Regions from separate parts of the Homo sapiens genome. Here region 1 is linked to region 2. Evidence: promoter capture Hi-C in human tissues and cell types (Jung and others, 2019). All regions are on one chromosome and are shown on one strand. Each heading gives the region's core, a stretch centred on a gene start or on the middle of the fragment in contact. The rest is flanking DNA. Distances are from core to core; before and after follow the strand shown.

Region 1 (4,120 bases), core at 652-3,151, 350 kb after region 2:
TCGCTAGGTCATAGGATAGGTATAGAGTTAGCCTGAGGAGATACTGCCAGTTTTCCAAAGTGGCTGAAGTAATTTACATGTTTCCCAGCAATGTGTAAGAGTTCCAGTTGCTTCATATCCTCACCAATATTTTTTTCCTTTTTTTTAAATGGTTCATTCTGAATCCTCACCAATATTTGATTTTTGTCAGTTTTTAAAATTTTAGCCATTCTGATGAGTGTGTAATATTATCTCATTGTAGTTTTAGCTCCCATTTTCTTGATGTGCAATGATGTTGTGGACTTTTTAAATGTTTATTGATCATTTGGTTATCTTCTTTTCAAAGTGCCTGCCTTTTCTTTTTTTTTTTTTAACTGGGCTGTTTGTCTTTTTTTTTCTTTTGGTAGTTCTTTAAATGTTCTAGCTATGAGTGCTTTGTCAAATCTTATATTATATAGGACCATAATATATAATAAAAATCTTTTCCCAGACTGTGGCTCATGTTCATTGTTAATGGCTATGCATTACTCAATTAGATCTAACCACCGTTTAATGATTCTCTTACTGCTGGACATTTAGATTATTTTCTTTCTTTCTTTTTGCATCCCTAGGTGGGCACAAATAGACTATTTCTAATTTTTGCTTTAATTAAACACTGATAACCAAAATTTAAAGCTTTATTTGTATCTAAAATCTTTCCTTCATCCATACTCACAGAAGTTGAATTACTGAATTAATGTACACAACCATTTGGTATTGATGCAGACAGAGCCAAACTGGTTCAGAAAAATTCTATCAGTTGATACTGGTGCCCAATAATGCATCATAATACCAACTCACCATGTCCTCACCAACTCTGGCTTTTCCCCTATTTTTTATCAGTCTGATAGGACAAAAAATTTGTATTTCATTGTTTTAATGTTTAACTCAGTGATTACTAGTAAAATCGAAATTACTTTTGTTTAGTCATTTATATTCTCATTTTCATAAACGGTCTTCATTTTGTGTATGCATTTATCAAGTGCTTTTTAGAGTTCTTCTCATTCACTAAGGTATTGTGCTTTTCTTTTCATATAATACTTTACAACATTTTTATTTTTATATTTACTGCAATCATTTCCCAAGATGTAATGTTCTTTGTGCTTTTCAAATTTTTATGTAGTTGGATCGGTGATCACACCCAAGCTTAGAAATATTTTTTCCCTACAATATTCCCCATAAATCTAAGTATTTCCCTATAAATATTCATGTCAAACTATATTCTTAAAATTAAAAAAATTAACTCTTTAATGCCTTAGCAACCTTTTTGGGGGTACTATTAACATACTGGTCTCATCTCTAACTCTTATCTTTTTCCAAATTAATAACCAGCTCTGGCAATACCATTTATCAAATATTCTTTTCCTCTTCAGATTTATGATGCATACCTTATCATTTATTAAATTTTTAGACACGAAATAGTCTGCTTCTGGACTGTCTTTTCAGTTCCATCGATTTGGTCTTAGCCTTATAATTATTTCATTTGACCAATATTTACTAAGCACCTGCATCACGTTAGATTGTAGGGATAAAACAGGGAACGAGACATAGTGACTAGATAGTCACTATTTTTATGGTGCTTGAAGGCTAGTGAGAAGATGGAGACAAGTAAACAGACAGACGGGAAAAGTACAGGCAAGAGCTCAGGCTGGAGAAGTATTAAGGGCGAGATCACACAGGATATTAAAGATCTAAAAAATGAGTTTGCACTTTATCTTGAGAGCAAAGTAAGCCACCGAAGGGCTTCATCGGGGGCAAAGTGTTCAGATAGGCATTTTAGAAAGATCACTTTATCTATAAGAAAATAAAAATAATTTACTAGAGGAAGTCAGGAGTACAGTCAAGGAGCCCACTTAAGGGACTATGAGGAATATTAACAACTGACTCAATACTCTTCTTCAAACTTTTCTATGCTACTTTCACATATTTAGTTTCCACATAAACTTTGAAATTGTTTAGTCAATTTCCCTCCTATACACCCAACTCCAATCCAATTGTGATTTTATTTGGAAGTACACTAAATGCTTAATATATGAAAAATTACAACTTGATTACATATAATTTTCCATAAGGTTTTTAAACAATTGCTATTCAGCCATGTTTCCTTCCATCATATATTTTTGCAAGAATAACATAAGTTGTTAGCAAAACAAAAAACAAGAAAAACAAGCAGAGTAGGAACACCTTAATAGTTTGTCTCAAAGTACAGGAAATGTCAAGAACTAAAGGAAAGCAAAAGCAAAAAGGACTAAGTCTAAGCCAAGAAGGTAGACTAAGCTGTTGGAGAGAACTATATGGACAATTTGTTAATTCAGTGTTAAACAGAGGTATACCTTGGTCCCAAGGAAGAAAGAACCTTATTTTTCCAAGAGCCAAGAAGTGAATAAAGAAAAAACTTCAACCTGAATTCAAAGCAAGCTGGAGCCTTATCAAAATAATTGTAACCTATAGTGGCAGGGCCTAAGAACCAAAGGAGTGGAAAAGACCTGCCAGAGAATTTAAGTGCTTTTAAATTGGGCCAGACTAAGTTAGGAGTAATTGCGTGTGGCTTTAATCAGTTTGAGTTTGGATTCTCTCATACCATAGTGCAGTAAGGCTGTGAACCTGGAAACACTGTGAGCTGGAATATGGACAGCAAGTTGAAGGTAAGGGGCAATTCCAGAGAAAGGCAGAGGATGAAGGGAAGCATGGGGAAGGAAGCTCACCCTATAGGAAGAGATTAATCCTCCTCAACCTCTTCAGTACAAACAAGACAGGACACATAATTCTGTGAGTGGACAAAACAGAGATACTGCTCATATTTTTAGGCCTGTATTTACTCTCAGGATTTTTAATGCATTTTTTCCACAGGGGATTTGTTATTCTGAAAATGGGTTGAGTCTTATTTTGCAACGTGAATAGTGAGATATTTAATACAAGGCAAAATTTAAGAAATTGAAGATCTGACGGTCTGACAAAACTACCAGACACATAATGCCAAAAAGACATAGTTCTCATTCACTTTCCTTTCCAGGGCTGCCATTCAAAGCCGTCTCCTTTTAGAAAGAAAGAATATTTACACAAAAGATCTTGTTTCAATTACAATTTTCTTGTTCCATCTTTTTATGTGGGCAGAGCATAATTCCTTCATTCAGGAGATGTTTACCCCACTGGAGGCACTAGGGCTATAAAGATGAAAAGAGAGATGTAGTTCTTATCCTCCTGGGGTTCATATACAACAGATTATACAGATAAATAATTAGATAATTACAACAAAAAGCCCAGGGTGTTACTGGCGCACACTGGAGAGGATCTGGGGAGTTCAGGAAGCAGCCTGGAGGAAATGGCATCTAAAGGAAGGTTGCAAGGGTATCTCATACGACCCAAGGGTTAGGACCAAGATAATTAGAACCAGATTCTGGAACAGAGCTTTTCTCAACGTGGGAGTGATTTACAAGTATGACCTCTCAGAACACTGCAGAGTACAGCTTTTTACCTGGGTTCAGATTACAGGTGTGTCCGCCAGCCATAAGCACAGCCTTGTCCATCTCCTTCAATGGGCAGTATTTATATTACCATTTGCTATGTGTGTCATGACATAAAAAAGGTTAGGAATCACTGCTTGTAAAGAACTAAGGAAATGTTTTTGCCTTTTGGCTATAATTCATTCTTATTCTCTCCCTCTCTTACTCTCTCGTCTTTCTTTCCCCTCATTCTTCTCTACTCTTTTCTACTCTTCAACCCTCAGAACTTGACTCCCAACAATTCCAAAACATACACATTCTGAATTTCAGCCACCAAAACAGAGAGAAAGATGATTTCATTTCAAATATAAAGTCCTGGGGAAGAACTGTGGTTGGTCCAGCTTGAGTCAGATGCCCATCCTTGGACAAATCAACAGTGACCAAAAGGCAGGAATGTCTTGTGCAGATGATCCCTAACTTATGATGGTTTGATTTTTTTGACTTCATAATGGTGCAAAAGTGATACACATTCAGTAAAGACCATACTTCAAGTACCCATAAAACCATTCTGTTTTTCATTTTCAGAATGGTATTCGATAAATTACAGGAGATATTTAACACTTCAGTATAAAATAGGCTTTATGTTAGATGATTTTGAC
Region 2 (4,328 bases), core at 605-3,104:
TCTCCTGCCTCAGCCTCCTGAGTAGCTGAGATTACAGGTGCCTGCCACCACGCCTGGCTAATTTTTTTTGTATTTTTAGTAGAGACGGGGTTTCACCATGTTGGCTAGGCTGGTCTCGAACTCCTGACCTCAGGTGATCCACCCGCCTCGGCCTCCCAAAATACTGGGATTACAAGCATGAGCCACTGCGTCGGCCTCTTCTGGCTTCTTACTGTTACATGCAGGAGGGTTGAGGACAGCTCCATTTGAAGAGCAGGTAGGCTTGTACACTGAGGAACATTCACAGGGAGGGGCGCACTGAGCTGGGGGCCTGCCTTCCTCTTCTGAGTTCCCATAACAGCTGTTGTGGATGTTCTGAAAGGCTGTGGACAAAGTAGCCCTCTGGGTACAGAGCAATGCATTTTCCACTGTATGCCTTGCCCCCCAAGGTTCCTAAAGCCTGGAATTCCTATTGACAGAAATCTGAGTGGCACATAAACAAAACCCAGCACTTTCTGCCTTGATTGCACCATTTTGAATGATGCCAGATTCCCTTTCTGTTCCCCCTAGGACAGTTGACAGGGCTGGTGAAAGCCTAGTCGGCTGGAGTGGTCAGGTAACTGGGTGGCATCCTCTCCTCTGGAGAGCCACTCCCTCATCTCTAGGTCCAGAGATAATCTGGATTAAGACAGGGCTTAAGTTTCCTGTTTCCCAGGTTTGTGGTCAGTTTTGACTCGATCTCCAGAAACAAGGTAAAATAGTAAATGAACAACAGCCTTTGTGAAGGATCTGGATTCACATCTGACAGGAACAGCTTTCAGAAACAGAATTTTACTCAATTTCGCTAGCATCAAGTTCTCAAATTATACATACTTAGAATTGAAAACGTTTAAGAGGGTCAGAAAGCTGGCCGGAGGGGCAGTTGCTTCAGCTTTAATATGACAAATAAGAGGGCGAGTGGGAACTTAGAGGTCATATTTGTGACGGGCTCAGGCTTGGCTACGGGCCACGCTTCTCTGGCTTGGATCTCTGAGGCCCACTTCGGCCGCGGTCATCTACCCATGATGAGGGAACGGAGGCCCCGGAGGGGTGGCCAGAACCGATTGGACTGTCCACTCGAGGTGCGCGTGGCACTCGGGAGGCCTCAGTAAAGGCGTCGCCTCTCCCCGCCCAGGGCCTTCTTCCCCGCGCTCCCTGGCTGCTTTCCACAGGGACGGGGATGTCAGGTGGAAGGAGGGAGCTCCGGACCCTGGCCTCGGCGGAGGGCTCCTCACCAGGCCAGGGCGGCAGCCTCAGAGAGGGCGGGCCGCGCGCTGCCAGGGCAGGGACTCGGCCGAGAGTGCCCCCGCGGCCGGCAGCTGCGGGCGCCGCGGCGGGAACAAAGGCAGCACGTGTCTGGGCGGGACGCGGGCGGGGTCGGCCCTCGGCTCCGCCCTGCTCGGCGCCCGCCCCGCGTCGGCAGAGTTGGGTTGCGCGGGCGCCGAGGACTCTCCGGCGGCCGGGCTGCTGTTGGGCGGCGGCGCGGAGCGGGCGGCGAGCTGTGCGGGAGGGGCGGCCCCGAGGGGCGGGGCGGGCCGACGCCGCGTGTCCCGCCGCAGCCGCGGAGTCCGGCTCCTAGATGGGGCCCGGCGCGTAGAGGTGCCTCCCGCTCGTTGCCGCGTCCTACCCGCACCGTGCGCGGCTCGAGCTGAGGACACCAACGGCCGCGACTCCCCGGCGAGACCAGGCCGGAGCGTGGACGGCGCGCGCGCCCCGCGAGGGAGGGCGCTGAGGCGCGCGCCGGAAGCGGGAGCGGGAGCGGGAGCGCGGCGGCGGCGGCGAAGGTGCGGGCGGCCGAGCGGGGGGCGGGGCTGCGGTGCCTGCAGAACCTTGGACAGAAGCTCCCTAGCTGCCGCCGCCGCCGCCGCCGCCGTCGCCGCCGCCGAGCGCGAGCCCAGCCGATCCCCGCCGAGCGCCCCCGAGCGCCGCCGAGCGCCGGGACCGCGGCGGCGGGGCCGCGGCGCGCATTGCGGAGGGCGCGGAGCGCAGGAGCTGCCGCCTGCCGGGTAAGCCTGCGCTGGGCGGCCGTCCTTGGCCCTGGGGAGCGGAGACCGGGGTCGCGCCCGTGCGGGGTGTCCAGGCGGGGGTCCTCGGCCGCCTCCGTCGGCGACCGGGCCCCTCCCGGCTGCGCCTGGGGACCGCAGCGGCGGCGGCGGGCGGGGGTGCTGCAGTGGAGGCGGCGAGGCTGCGTCGCGGGGGCGCGGGTAGGGCCCGGGACTGGGGCGGCGGGGTGCGCCGAGGCGCGGGGCGGAGGGGCGCAGGGGCGCAGGGGCGCGGCGCGGAGCCCAGCCTGGCGCTAAGAACCATCTTGTTTTCCAGGCAGATCCAAGGGGGCAGCACGCTTCCCGGGAGCGCCCCCGCCTCCTCTCCGGGGCCGCCGCAGGCTCGGTGAGCGGTTTTATCCCTCCGGCCGGCAGGCTGGGCGCGCAGGGGCGCGAGCCCCCGCCCGGCGCGCAGCAGCACCATGGGCACGGTGCTGTCCCTGTCTCCCAGCTACCGGAAGGCCACGCTGTTTGAGGATGGCGCGGCCACCGTGGGCCACTATACGGCCGTACAGAACAGCAAGAACGCCAAGGACAAGAACCTGAAGCGCCACTCCATCATCTCCGTGCTGCCTTGGAAGAGAATCGTGGCCGTGTCGGCCAAGAAGAAGAACTCCAAGAAGGTGCAGCCCAACAGCAGCTACCAGAACAACATCACGCACCTCAACAATGAGAACCTGAAGAAGTCGCTGTCGTGCGCCAACCTGTCCACATTCGCCCAGCCCCCACCGGCCCAGCCGCCTGCACCCCCGGCCAGCCAGCTCTCGGGTTCCCAGACCGGGGGCTCCTCCTCAGTCAAGAAAGCCCCTCACCCTGCCGTCACCTCCGCAGGGACGCCCAAACGGGTCATCGTCCAGGCGTCCACCAGTGAGCTGCTTCGCTGCCTGGGTGAGTTTCTCTGCCGCCGGTGCTACCGCCTGAAGCACCTGTCCCCCACGGACCCCGTGCTCTGGCTGCGCAGCGTGGACCGCTCGCTGCTTCTGCAGGGCTGGCAGGACCAGGGCTTCATCACGCCGGCCAACGTGGTCTTCCTCTACATGCTCTGCAGGGATGTTATCTCCTCCGAGGTGGGCTCGGATCACGAGCTCCAGGCCGTCCTGCTGACATGCCTGTACCTCTCCTACTCCTACATGGGCAACGAGATCTCCTACCCGCTCAAGCCCTTCCTGGTGGAGAGCTGCAAGGAGGCCTTTTGGGACCGTTGCCTCTCTGTCATCAACCTCATGAGCTCAAAGATGCTGCAGATAAATGCCGACCCACACTACTTCACACAGGTCTTCTCCGACCTGAAGAACGAGAGCGGCCAGGAGGACAAGAAGCGGCTCCTCCTAGGCCTGGATCGGTGAGCACTGTAGCCTGCGTCATGGCTCAAGGATTCAATGCATTTTTAAGAATTTATTATTAAATCAGTTTTGTGTACAGTATGTGTCTAGCAAAGCCACCAAGGGCCTCACCTTTCCCACAGTCTCTCCCTGGGGTTTTTTTCATCCCTGCCAAGAACTCTGGGCACTTTTGAACTCACGAGCCTTGCGCAAAACCCAGAAGATGTATTCAGAGCCACCCAGGCCACTGACCTCCCACTTTGGGGAACTCAAAGGACTGACCTGCCCCTGCCGCCTGTGCCCTTGCTGGGTCCAGGGTAGGCAAGGCTGCCGGCTGCACCCTGTATGGAGCTAGAGAGGGGCCTCTGGCTGCCTGGCCCAGGGAGGAATTGGGGTTTCTGGTTGGAGGCCCTTTTCTGGCTCCTGTGTGGAGTTATTCACTCTCCCAGAGGCTCCTGGAGCCAGCCACCCTAACTGAGCTGCCAGTGGGGTCGTGAGGCAAGATCCCCGCCACCCGGGGACATCTTCAATCTAGGCGAGGCGAAGCTGAGCGGGTCTAGTGGAAAGATTGTGTCTGGTCGTTTGACCACACACCGCCCTGATTTGCTGTTTTCTTTTTTTAGGGAGAAGGGCTTTTCTTTAGTGGAGAAATGGAACTCGCCCCCCTACCCCCTTGTCTGCTGCTCCCAGCCACGTTGGTGGTATTGGCCGATGAGCTGGTTTGACTCATTAATTTCTCTCAATTTGGGTCCCAGCTAAAGAGGTGGGGTGAAGCTGGGGACAGCTTTCCTGGGTGAGTTTTTCTTTTGAATAATGTAGTGCAGTCACCCTGTGGCAAATGCCAGGACAGCTGCAGGTGCCCATTAGCAACGCCTGCCTTCTGGGCAAGGTGAGGGATGCCATACCTTGAGACCAAGCCGGTGCCCACCTAAGGGCTAAGGCCTCT

Evidence for each region. The method cuts DNA at HindIII sites, captures the fragments that hold promoters and counts their contacts. A contact is called where the count stands out against the background at its distance.
Region 1: a fragment that was not itself captured here is called in contact with the fragment with the promoter of CDK5R1 in region 2 in 1 of the 25 tissues and cell types used here (lymphoblastoid cells).

What each region holds. Positions count from the first base shown.
Region 1 is chr17:32,836,917-32,841,036 of GRCh38, forward strand. The region is part of intron 1 of MYO1D (myosin ID); the gene reads right to left. It overlaps LOC124903981 (a long non-coding RNA gene), which reads left to right. Exons shown (of 4, transcript XR_007065713.1): 2 at 1-4,120. Among named protein-coding and RNA genes, the nearest start is that of MYO1D-DT, 38 kb to the right of the region's middle. The HindIII fragment of the contact is 3,784 bases long and covers 10-3,793 here.
Region 2 is chr17:32,485,139-32,489,466 of GRCh38, forward strand. It overlaps CDK5R1 (cyclin dependent kinase 5 regulatory subunit 1), which reads left to right and starts at 1,855. Exons shown (of 2, transcript NM_003885.3): 1 at 1,855-2,024; 2 at 2,338-4,328. The coding sequence starts at 2,483. The coding sequence ends at 3,406. RefSeq lists enhancers at 641-1,142, 2,382-2,941 and silencers at 1,215-1,744, 1,855-2,114, 2,205-2,494. The HindIII fragment of the contact is 18,533 bases long and covers 1-4,328 here.